3 separate regions of the Homo sapiens genome follow, and regions 1 and 3 are each linked to region 2. The links are contacts of gene promoters, found by promoter capture Hi-C in blood cells and fetal thymus (Javierre and others, 2016). All regions are on one chromosome and are shown on one strand. Each heading gives the region's core, a stretch centred on a gene start or on the middle of the fragment in contact. The rest is flanking DNA. Distances are from core to core; before and after follow the strand shown.

Evidence for each region. Contacts are between HindIII fragments. The CHiCAGO score rates a contact against its expected background, and 5 or more counts as called.
Region 1: a fragment that was not itself captured here is called in contact with the fragment with the promoter of TXNDC8 in region 2 in 1 of 17 cell types (neutrophils); the score reaches 5.9 in neutrophils.
Region 3: a contact is called between a fragment that was not itself captured here and the fragment with the promoter of TXNDC8 in region 2, in 1 of 17 cell types (endothelial precursors). The highest score is 5.2, in endothelial precursors.

Annotation. Positions count from the first base shown.
Region 1 is chr9:111,303,164-111,306,483 of GRCh38, reverse strand. No RefSeq gene overlaps it. Among named protein-coding and RNA genes, the nearest start is that of OR2K2, 25 kb to the left of the region's middle. The HindIII fragment of the contact is 6,759 bases long and covers 1-3,320 here.
Region 2 is chr9:110,336,159-110,339,353 of GRCh38, reverse strand. TXNDC8 (thioredoxin domain containing 8) reads left to right here and starts at 1,491. Exons shown (of 6, transcript NM_001424031.1): 1 at 1,491-1,581. The coding sequence starts at 1,558. LOC124902245 (a long non-coding RNA gene) reads right to left here and starts at 3,150. Exons shown (of 2, transcript XR_007061728.1): 1 at 1,117-3,150; 2 at 712-829. The HindIII fragment of the contact is 4,418 bases long and covers 1-2,654 here.
Region 3 is chr9:111,279,810-111,283,063 of GRCh38, reverse strand. The region is part of intron 1 of LOC105376219 (a long non-coding RNA gene); the gene reads left to right. Among named protein-coding and RNA genes, the nearest start is that of MIR7702, 10 kb to the right of the region's middle. The HindIII fragment of the contact is 3,113 bases long and covers 1-2,996 here.

The sequences.
Region 1 (3,320 bases), core at 599-3,098, 970 kb before region 2:
TGCGGAGCAGAGCACAGTGGGCTTATTTAGGGACTAGGTCAGTAATGGAGGAAAATATAGCCCTGCCTGTGGGAAGGAGGTGAATTTCTTCCAAATGCTTGAGAGTTCTGCTTTGAGATGGGCAGAAATCAGCACTAAGTAGAAGGGATTGCATAGGTTATTTTTGTGGATTGTGGAAGCCCAGACATTTATTTCCTGCCTTTCTCTGCTTCAGTGTGGATAACATTCACCTGGGGAGCTTGTTATAAATGAAGACTCCTGGGCCTCATTCTCAGTAATTCTGATTCAGTAGACCTGTGGTGGAACCTAAGAAACTGCACTTTATGAGCACGCCAGTTGATTACACAATGCACGTAGTTCAAAGGCCACATTTCGAGGGACAGAGTTCTAGAGTAAAGTCCACCGTTTCCAGCAGAAACATTGCACTCACTCTCATCCCCCTATGAAACTTCATAGTATTGGCAATATATAATATAAAGCAAATTTCTTAAAGTTGAGAGTGACTTTTTTTGTTTTTGAGACTGAGTTTCACTCTTGTTGCCCAGGCTGGAGTGCAATGGCACGATCTCAGCTCACCACAACTTCCACCTCCCGGGTTCAGGTGATTCTCCTGCCTCAGCCTCCTGATTAGCTGGGATTACAGACACGTGCCACCACGCCTGGCTAATTTTGTGTTTTTAGTAGATAAAGGTTTGGTAGAGAAACCTCCATGTTGGTCAGGCTGGTCTCGAGCTCCTGACCTCAAGTGATCCTCCCCTCTTGGCCTCCCAAAGTGCTGGGATTATAGGCATGAGCCACCGCGCCCGGCCGAGAGTGACACTTTTATGCCACTCTTTTATGGACCCTTTTATGAACACTTTCAACTACTCTCACTTCTCAGTATTTCATTGTTACTCAAAAGGAGAAATCAATTTCACCTGGAATCCACTTCAAATTCCCCTTAGGAAACTTTCTGAGAAGAAAAGTTTTCTTACTAATAAGTCCCAGTTGTATTTGTACACACTCACTCCTATGCTATTGCCTACCCTCGGGTCTGAGTCTCATGGTATCTTATTTAACCTGTGAACAATTCCAGGGCAGCAATGCCTCTTGTTTCTAACCTGTAATGAAGTCTCTTGAAACTCAGCTCCCTCCAGAACAGTGAGGATTAGTCTATAACTTGTACTTGGTGTAGTGGGAATACCGTCATAATGAACTGAGGTGCCAAAGAAAAAGAAAAGCATTATGATTGTGTTGGTTTGGTATATTTTGTCAACAAAGACATACTCTTGGGCTATTTGCAGAGCTAAGCCAATTGGCTGCTTCTCCCAGAAGGCCACAGGAAGGTCTTCTGAGAGGACTGGTGAAGTGAGAGACAGGCTAGGTGGAGGGGCTGCATGCATTTTACTGCTCCCTGGGCAAAGAAGCCCTTCCCAGTAGGACTCCAGCTCCTTTCCCCATCTTCCATTCTTCTGCCTCTAATGCACCTGCAGATTAACCAAAATATTTTCTTTTATCTTCATGCTCTATTGTTCAATTGTTAGGGAAGAATGATTCCTAAACATTGTATTAATATTAGCACAGTGCCCAGGACAAGTCAAGGGCTAGTTCCGTTCTACCCTGCATCGGTCAGAACTATTTCCACTGTGTCTGCTAAGTTGAGTTGGAATATACCACCTACTTTAGTAATTATTCTGAGCAGTCCTGGTCCACAGGAGGCTACTCCTAGTACCAGATTGCCTGCCAGCTGTGCTTAGAGGAAACGAATTTAGGTATGGCATCAAAATCCATTTTAATTTCCTTTCTAGTATTTGTTGTCTTTCAGCCGTAGGCCAAAGTTAGCAATGGATGAAATTTACATCTAGAGAGTAGCATTCCTATTTACAAGACACACTGATAAAAATGGGGGCTGTGCCATATTTTATGCAAATATTTCCTGAGTACATTATCCTTAAAAAATTATTTCAGGTTTTGTTGTTTTTTTTTTATTGTACTTTAAGTTCTAGGGTACATGTGCACAACGTGCAGGTTTGTTACATATGTGTACATGTGCCATGTTGGTGTGCTGCACCCATTAACTCGTCATTTACATTAGGTATATCTCCTAATGCTATCGCTCCCCCCTCCCCCCACCCCATGACAGGCCCCGGTGTGTGATGTTCCCCACCCTGTGTCCAAGTGTTCTCATTGTTCAATTCCCACCTATGAGTGAGAACATGCGGTGTTTGGTTTTCTGGCCTTGCGATAGTTTGCTCAGAATGTTGGTTTCCAGCTTCATCCATGTCTCTACAAAGGACATGCACTCATCCTTTTTTATGGCTGCATAGTATTCCATGGTGTATATGTGCCACATTTTCTTAATCCAGTCTATCACTGATGGACATTTGGGTTGGTTCCAAATCTTTGCTTTTGTGAATAGTGCCACAATAAACATACGTGTGCATGCGTCTTTATAGCAGCATGATTTATAATCCTTTGGGTATATTTTTAAATAGTACAAGCAGTGGGCTGGGTGCAGTGGCTCATGCCTGTAATCCCAGCACTTTGGGAGGCTGAGGTGGGAGGTTTGCTTGAGCCTAGGAGTTTGAGACCAGCCTGGGTGACATAGGGAGACCCTGTCTCTACAAATAATTAAAAAGTTAGCTGGGCATAGTGACGTGCACCTGTGGTCCCAGCTACTCGGGAGGCTGAGGTGGGAAGATTGCCTGAGCACAGGAGGTCAAGGCTGCAGTGAGTCGTGATACTCCCACTGCACTTTAGCCTGGGCAACAGAGTAAGAGCCTGTCTCTAAATAAATAAGTATGTAAATAAATAGCTAGCATAAGCAATGAACCAATATATTCTTGTAAAAACCACTAAAGTGATATGCTTTACCAGAGTTCTCCTTTGACCCCATTCCCACCCCATCCCAGCCATACTCCTAGAGTTAATTTCTCTAATTAGTTTGGCATGTATCTCTCTGGACCTTTCTTAAGTCATATTATAATAGTTCTCAACTTTACTGTGTTTGAGCATCACCTGGTGTTATGGGCTAAATCGTGTCTTCCCAGAATTTATCTGTTGAAGCCCTTGTCCCTAGTACCTCAGAATGTAATTATTTGGCAATAGGGCTTTTAAAGAGGTGATTGAGTTAAAATGAGGTTCTGATTCATACAAAGCAATATTAAAATTATGACATACTCTCAGAATATCATGCTGTAATTAAAAATGATGTATATCTGTATTTATTCAACTGGGGGAAAGTCATGTCACATGAAAAGGCAAAAATATTTATATATGAAACATTTTTATATTACTTTGAGATAGTGTGTCCTGAAACCTGTCAAGGCAAACAAACTGGA
Region 2 (3,195 bases), core at 242-2,741:
CACCGGGGCCTGTTGTGGGGTGGGGGGAGGGAGGAGGGATAGCATTTGGAGATATACCTAATGTTAAATGACGAGTTACTGGGTGCAGCACACCAACATGGCACATGTATACATTTGTAACTAACCTGCACATTGTGCACATGTACCCTAAAACTTAAACTATAATAAAAAAAATTTTTTTGTTAATACGTGTATTAGTCTCTTTTCACGTTGCTGATAAAGACATACCCAAGTCTAGGTAATTTATAAAGAAAAAGAGGTTTAATAGATTCACAGTTCCATGTGGCTGGGGAGGCCTCACAATTCTGGCAGAAGGTGAAAGTCACGTCTTACATGGCAGCAGGCAAGAGAGAATGAGAGCCAAGCAAATGGGGAAACGTCTTATAAAACCATCAGATCTCATGAGATGTATTCACTACCATGAGAACAGTATGGAAGAACTGCCCCCATTATTCAATTATCTCCCACCGGTCCCTCCCACAACCCTTGGGAATTATGGGAGCTACAATTCAAGATGAGATTTGAGTGGGGACACAGCCAAACCATATCAATACATAATACTTCTACGTATTTATGGGGTACATGTGATATTTTGTTACATGCATACTTCAAATACCTCTACAGAGGCAGCCACTGTCTCCATCTGACAGTTTTCATGCAACACATGATTGAAGGCCCAGAGCTGCATATATAGAAAAACAGAAAGAAGGATTTTGCTATTTTTGTTTTATTATAGAATCTACTATTTCTCATTTTGGTTGTTCTTGTTGCTCTGTAGATTTGAAGAACATTGGCCATGGTCATGTTCAGAATTTTTCTGACATCAGTTCTGAAAATGGCAAATCATCAAGTGCAGGGGTCAGCAAACTGCTGCTGTTCTTTGTACATCCTACTAGCTGCGAATGGTTTTTACATTTTTTAAAGGTTGCAAAAACATAAGGAACATGCAACAAAGACTGTATGAGGCCCATAAAACTAAAATAGTATCTGTTCCCTTAGAGAAAACATTTGCCAACCCTTGATCTAGAGCATAAAAGTGACATTTCTTTACTCTCTAAATAATTAGAGCAAAATAACAAAGTTCAGGGAATTTATGACTCATGAAATCAAACTTACAGGAAACTCATTATTATAGGGTTAAGACTTTAGTATTTTTCTCAACAGCAAAATCTTCAAATTCTTAAGTGAAAATCTCATCTATTTAATATTACTCTGCTTACTTCTCATTTGGTGATGGGATGGAGGGATTAGAGAAGGGAGAAGGATATTTAGAAATAGGTTATAAAAGATGAAAATAAAGCAAACACATTACTGATTCTGCATATAAAGCCCTCAGTTTTCTGATTCTTGGCTGTCCACAAATGAACTAGTCATGGCATAAAAGTGAAATAGGATCCAAAGTCTGCCAAAGTTCCAGGTTCTGAGATGACATGTTTAATGATGTCATAGAGAAGTTATCCATGTATTCCAGGCAGGATACTGTAATAAATAGGAGACAGCTACAGTGATCCAACTAAACCAACAGGGGATTTTCATCAGCACTTCCCTGGTGTAATCATGGTACAGATTATTAAAGACACGGCAAGTATTTATTTGGCTTCACTGAGTATTTCAAATGTGGACATCTTGGGAACAGATTTGAAAAACTTTAAGAATGTGTTCTCTCTATCCAGTATTCTATCATTGCATTGTAGCAAGGGGAGAGTTCTAAATTCTTGTTCTTTATCTTGTTCCTTGAGGGATGGTACTATCAAGAAAAGCAGCCAAGGGTCAAATTGATAAAGAAGGGCTTTCTTCCTCCTGGACTTTTATTTCCTGCCTGACTTCAGGTGAATCCCAGACCAGCTCCTAGTACATCCCATCCTGTATCTGATCCCATGGATCGTACCTCAGTTGTGCTTGGAAAATTCCATGGAAGTAAGGAAGTCCACATCTTTTCTCTTATCCAAGGAAAAATAATAGAAACCCCAGATGTGGAATGGGGTGGGAAAATTGGGAACAGCCCAATGTTGCTGTCACAACAAATCTAAATTCATGTATAGGACAGAGATAATTCTTGATTTATAAAGGAGAAAATTGCCTCTAAAAGAGAGGTTCAGGGCTAGTTCGTTTAAGAGGTGGTGTGGGCATTAGAACCCAGACCTTCTGATGCCTGCCCTCATTACAAGAAGTCAAGAGCTGGAGGAGGGGAGGGGGTTTGGGGCCTGAGCCTCATGTCCACCAGCAGCCTCAGATTTAGACTTGTGACATTTTCCCCAAAGGTGGCTATACAGATCACAAAAATGACACTGACCAGATTGAAAGAGAGTACTGCCCTGTAACTTCGACATAAGAACATGTTTTGAAACATCACACATTTGCTAATGCTTTTGACACTTATTGTTTTAATATTCTGGGGATGTCACAGAATAGCCTGGAGCCTTATTCCCTCAGAAGACCTTTCATCTCCTCCCCAGGGACCTTTCCAGAGGCCCTGATCTCCATCCCATCTTTATTCAGATGCCACCTTCTCTTTGAGGTTGACCTTGGCCATCCAGACTACAGTTGTAATCCAACCCCCATTCTTCCTTCCTACTTCATTTTCTTTTTATTTTCTTTATTAGCAATTAGCACTAATATACTACAAATATTACCTATTGACCTTATAGTAAGCTTCCCATTCTAAAATGTAAACTCCATGGAGACAGAATGCCTAGTTTTTGTTTTGTTTTGTTTTGTTTTTGTCCACAGTGGTATCCTAGCAGTTTGTGCAGTAGCTGGCATAGTATAGGCCTCAATACGCATATGTTAAATAAATACCTATACTATGAGAGTATTCCCTTCAGATAGTTTAGTCAAGTCAAGTTCATGGGTCCAATTAGGCCAGCTCACACCCAAACAACAACTACTGGAAAGTGAAGAGTGTTGGGAGTTTGTGAGGATAGCATCTACCTTACAACTTCAGAAGCAAGTGAGAAATAAAGGCTTGGCAAGGTTCTCTGAAAAGTTAGTTACTCCCTCCCAGAGGAATATTGATAAAGAAAGAGAGTGCATCTTCTTTGAGTCATCACTTTCACCTGATTGAAACTAAACAAAGTAGCCACATAATTGTCAAGGCTATTATAGAGCAGGCATGTTGTATTAGTCTATTTGCATACTGCTATGAAGAAATGCCCAATACTTGGTAATTTATAAAGAAAAAAAGATCTAATGAAC
Region 3 (3,254 bases), core at 191-2,690, 940 kb before region 2:
TTCCAGTACCCAATTAAAGTTATGCAGGCTGATTTTCATTCATATGTTGCCAAACATTTCTGACGCTTGTGCATTTTTTAAAAATAAAAAATCAATGTCCCTTGGTAGTCACTTTCTGAACTTTCTAGAGCTTACATCTGTTCCAAGTCCTCTTTTTGGCGGTACTAATTTTTATTTCTTGTTATGGAGACAGCATTTTTTTTTTTAATGTGAGGGACAATTCCTTGAAGAGCTCTGATAATGCTCATTCAAGTTCTTACCATGAACAGTGGGCCGGAGTATATGTATATTGCCGTGGTTAAAGTATATAACTTTAATATACATTCACAGTTTTTATTATCTTCTTGTACAGTTTTGAAATTCTCATGTCTGAAAGCATGTTTTGTCTCATCACATCTTAAACTCTTGGACCTATTCTCAGGATGGACTTAAGGACAATAAGAATTTATCTGCTCATTGCCGTATTTACAATTCATCACAATTAATTTCATTTGATATAAAACAGATTCTGAAAGAAACTTTTTCAATTTTAACATGTTTGGATACTTCATGAAAAAAAAGCCATACAGAAGCTAGAAAGAGGGGGTAGATCTGGAGAGTGAGAAGAAATTATATATTCTGATTGCAGGCTCTATGGGGGAGAGGGGAGGGAGGGAAAGAGAGAGAGACAGAGGGAGAGAGAGAGAGAGAGAATGAATAAATCCTAGATAGTAGGTGCTGAGATCTGAAACTTCCTTGAATCCAGTCATCCTTGTGCTGAGTGTTTCCTGGGGAAAATGATGCTTGCAGGTGCGTATAAGGTCAAAATAAGTAAGGCACAGGGTTGAGTCTGAGCTATTGGTTGAGAGTTCTAAGAATCTGTGAACCCAAATGATATGGACCACATCCAAGCATGTGGCTGTGTTTCCTCTTTTATTTTTTGCCCAATAAAGTCAACAGTTGCACAAGTGGTAAATTATTGGTTAATGATGTCCAGGTACTCACAATCTGCCTACACGTATTGCTTATCTTTTAGCCTTGGGTTCTGTACTACTTGGGTGAATAAACTTCAGATGACATCTGTTGCCATTGGTAGAAAAGCCTGAACTAAGGGGTCTATGCCTGGAAGTGGAGCACAGTTATCACAAAACTAATGGGTTGGCTGGGCGCAGTGGCTCATGTCTGTAATCCCAGCACTTTGGGAGGCCGAGACGTGTAGATCACCTGAGGTCAGGAGTTCCAGACCAGCCCGGCCAACATAGCGAAACCTCGTCTCTACTAAAAATACAAAAATTAGCCAGGCATGGTGGCATGTGCCTGTAATCCCAGCTACTAGGGGGTGCTGAGGCAGTAGGCTCACTTGAACCTGGGAGGCGGAGGTTGCAGTGAGCCGAGATTGAGCCACTGTACTCCAGCTTGGGCAACAGAGTGTGACTCTGTCTTAAAAAAAAAAATGCTGATGGGTTGCAAGATTTTGATAGAAGTGTGGGCCCATTTTGCCATAAATTTATCAGGAAAAAAAGCTGGATCATACCTAAGTTACCGAACCACCTGGGCTTCACTAGTGACCTTATGTGGCAGTGTCAGCCCGAGAGGCAGTAGGGTATGGGGCCATCTGGTAGACAAAATTTTCTCTCTGGCTCCGTCCATGTTCCTGCAAAGGACATGATCTCACTCTTTTTTATGGCTGCCTAGTATTTCATGGTGTATATGTACCACATTTTCTTTATCCAGTCTACCTTTGATGGACATTTAGGTTAATTCCACGTCTTTGCTATTGTGAATAGTGACACAATGAACATATGCATACATGCATCTTTATGATATAACAATTTCTTTTCCTTTTATACATCCAGTAATGGGATTGCTGGATCGAATGGTAGTTCTGTTTCTAGCTCTTTGAGGAATCACCACACTGCTTTCCATAATGGTTGAATTGATTTACGCTCCCACCAATGGTGCATAAGTGTTCTCTTTTCTCCACAACCTTGTCAGCATTTGTTATTTTTTGACTTGTTAATAATAGCCATTCTGGCTGGTGTGAGATGGTATCTCCTTGTGGTTTTGATTTGCATTTCTCTAATGATGAGTGATATTGAGCTTTTTTTCATATGCTTGTTGGCCACATCTATATCTTCTTTGGAAGTGTCTGTTTTGTGTCCTTTGTCCACTTTTTAATGGGGTTGCTTGTTTTTTTCTTATAAATTTGTTTAAATTCCTGATAGATGCTGGATACTAGACCTTTATCAGATGCATAGTTTGCAAATATTTTCTCCCATTCTGTAGGTTGTCTGTTTTCTCTGTTTCTTTTGCTGTGCAGAAGCTCTTTTGTTTGATTAAATCCCATTTGTCAATTTTTGCTTTTGTTGCAATTACTTTTGGCATCTTTGTCATGAACTCTTTGCCTGTTCCTATGTCCAGAATGGTATTGCCTGGATTGTCTTCCAGGGTTTTTATAGTTTTGGGTTATACATTTAAGTCTTTAATCCATCTTGAGTTGATTTTCGTATATGGGGTAAGGAAGAGGTCCAATCTTCTGCATATGGCTAGCCAGTTATCCCAGTACCATTTATTGAATAGGGAGTCCTTTCCTCATTGCTTGTTTTTATCAGCTTTGTCAAAGATCAGATGGTTGTAGATGTATGTCCTTATTTCTGGGCTTTCTGTTTTGTTCCTTTGGCCATTATCCTTAGCAAACTAACACAGGAACAGAAAATCAAATACTGCATGTTCTTACTTATAAGTGGGAGCTAAATGATGACAACACATGGACACAAAGACGGGAACAACAGGCGCTGGGGCCACCTTGAGGGTGGAGGGTGGGAGGAGGGAGAGGATCAGAAAAAATAACTATTGGGTACTAGGCTTAGCATCTGGGTGACAAAATAATCTGTACAAAAAACCTCTGTGACATGAGTTTATTTATATAACAAACTTGCACATGTACCCCTGAACCTAAAATAAAAGTTATTTTTTTTTTCTCTCTCTAAAAGGCATTTGTAACCAGGAATGAAGCTTTGAATTGAACAGTCAATTCTTGGGGTTGGTGGACTTATCTTGGATGTGATAGTGGTGTGTTGAAGGAGGAAGAATAAAAGGCATGCTTTAAAGAGAGATGAAGGATTCAAAAATAAGTGACTTTGTTTTATATCCTAAGCTACTAAAGCAGGAACTATCTGTTGCATAATATTAATTCTATGAGATTTTCCTTAAAACTGGAAAGCAGAGAAATCACTTTCCAATTGTAAAGGATGTTTATGTTTTTAATTATTACA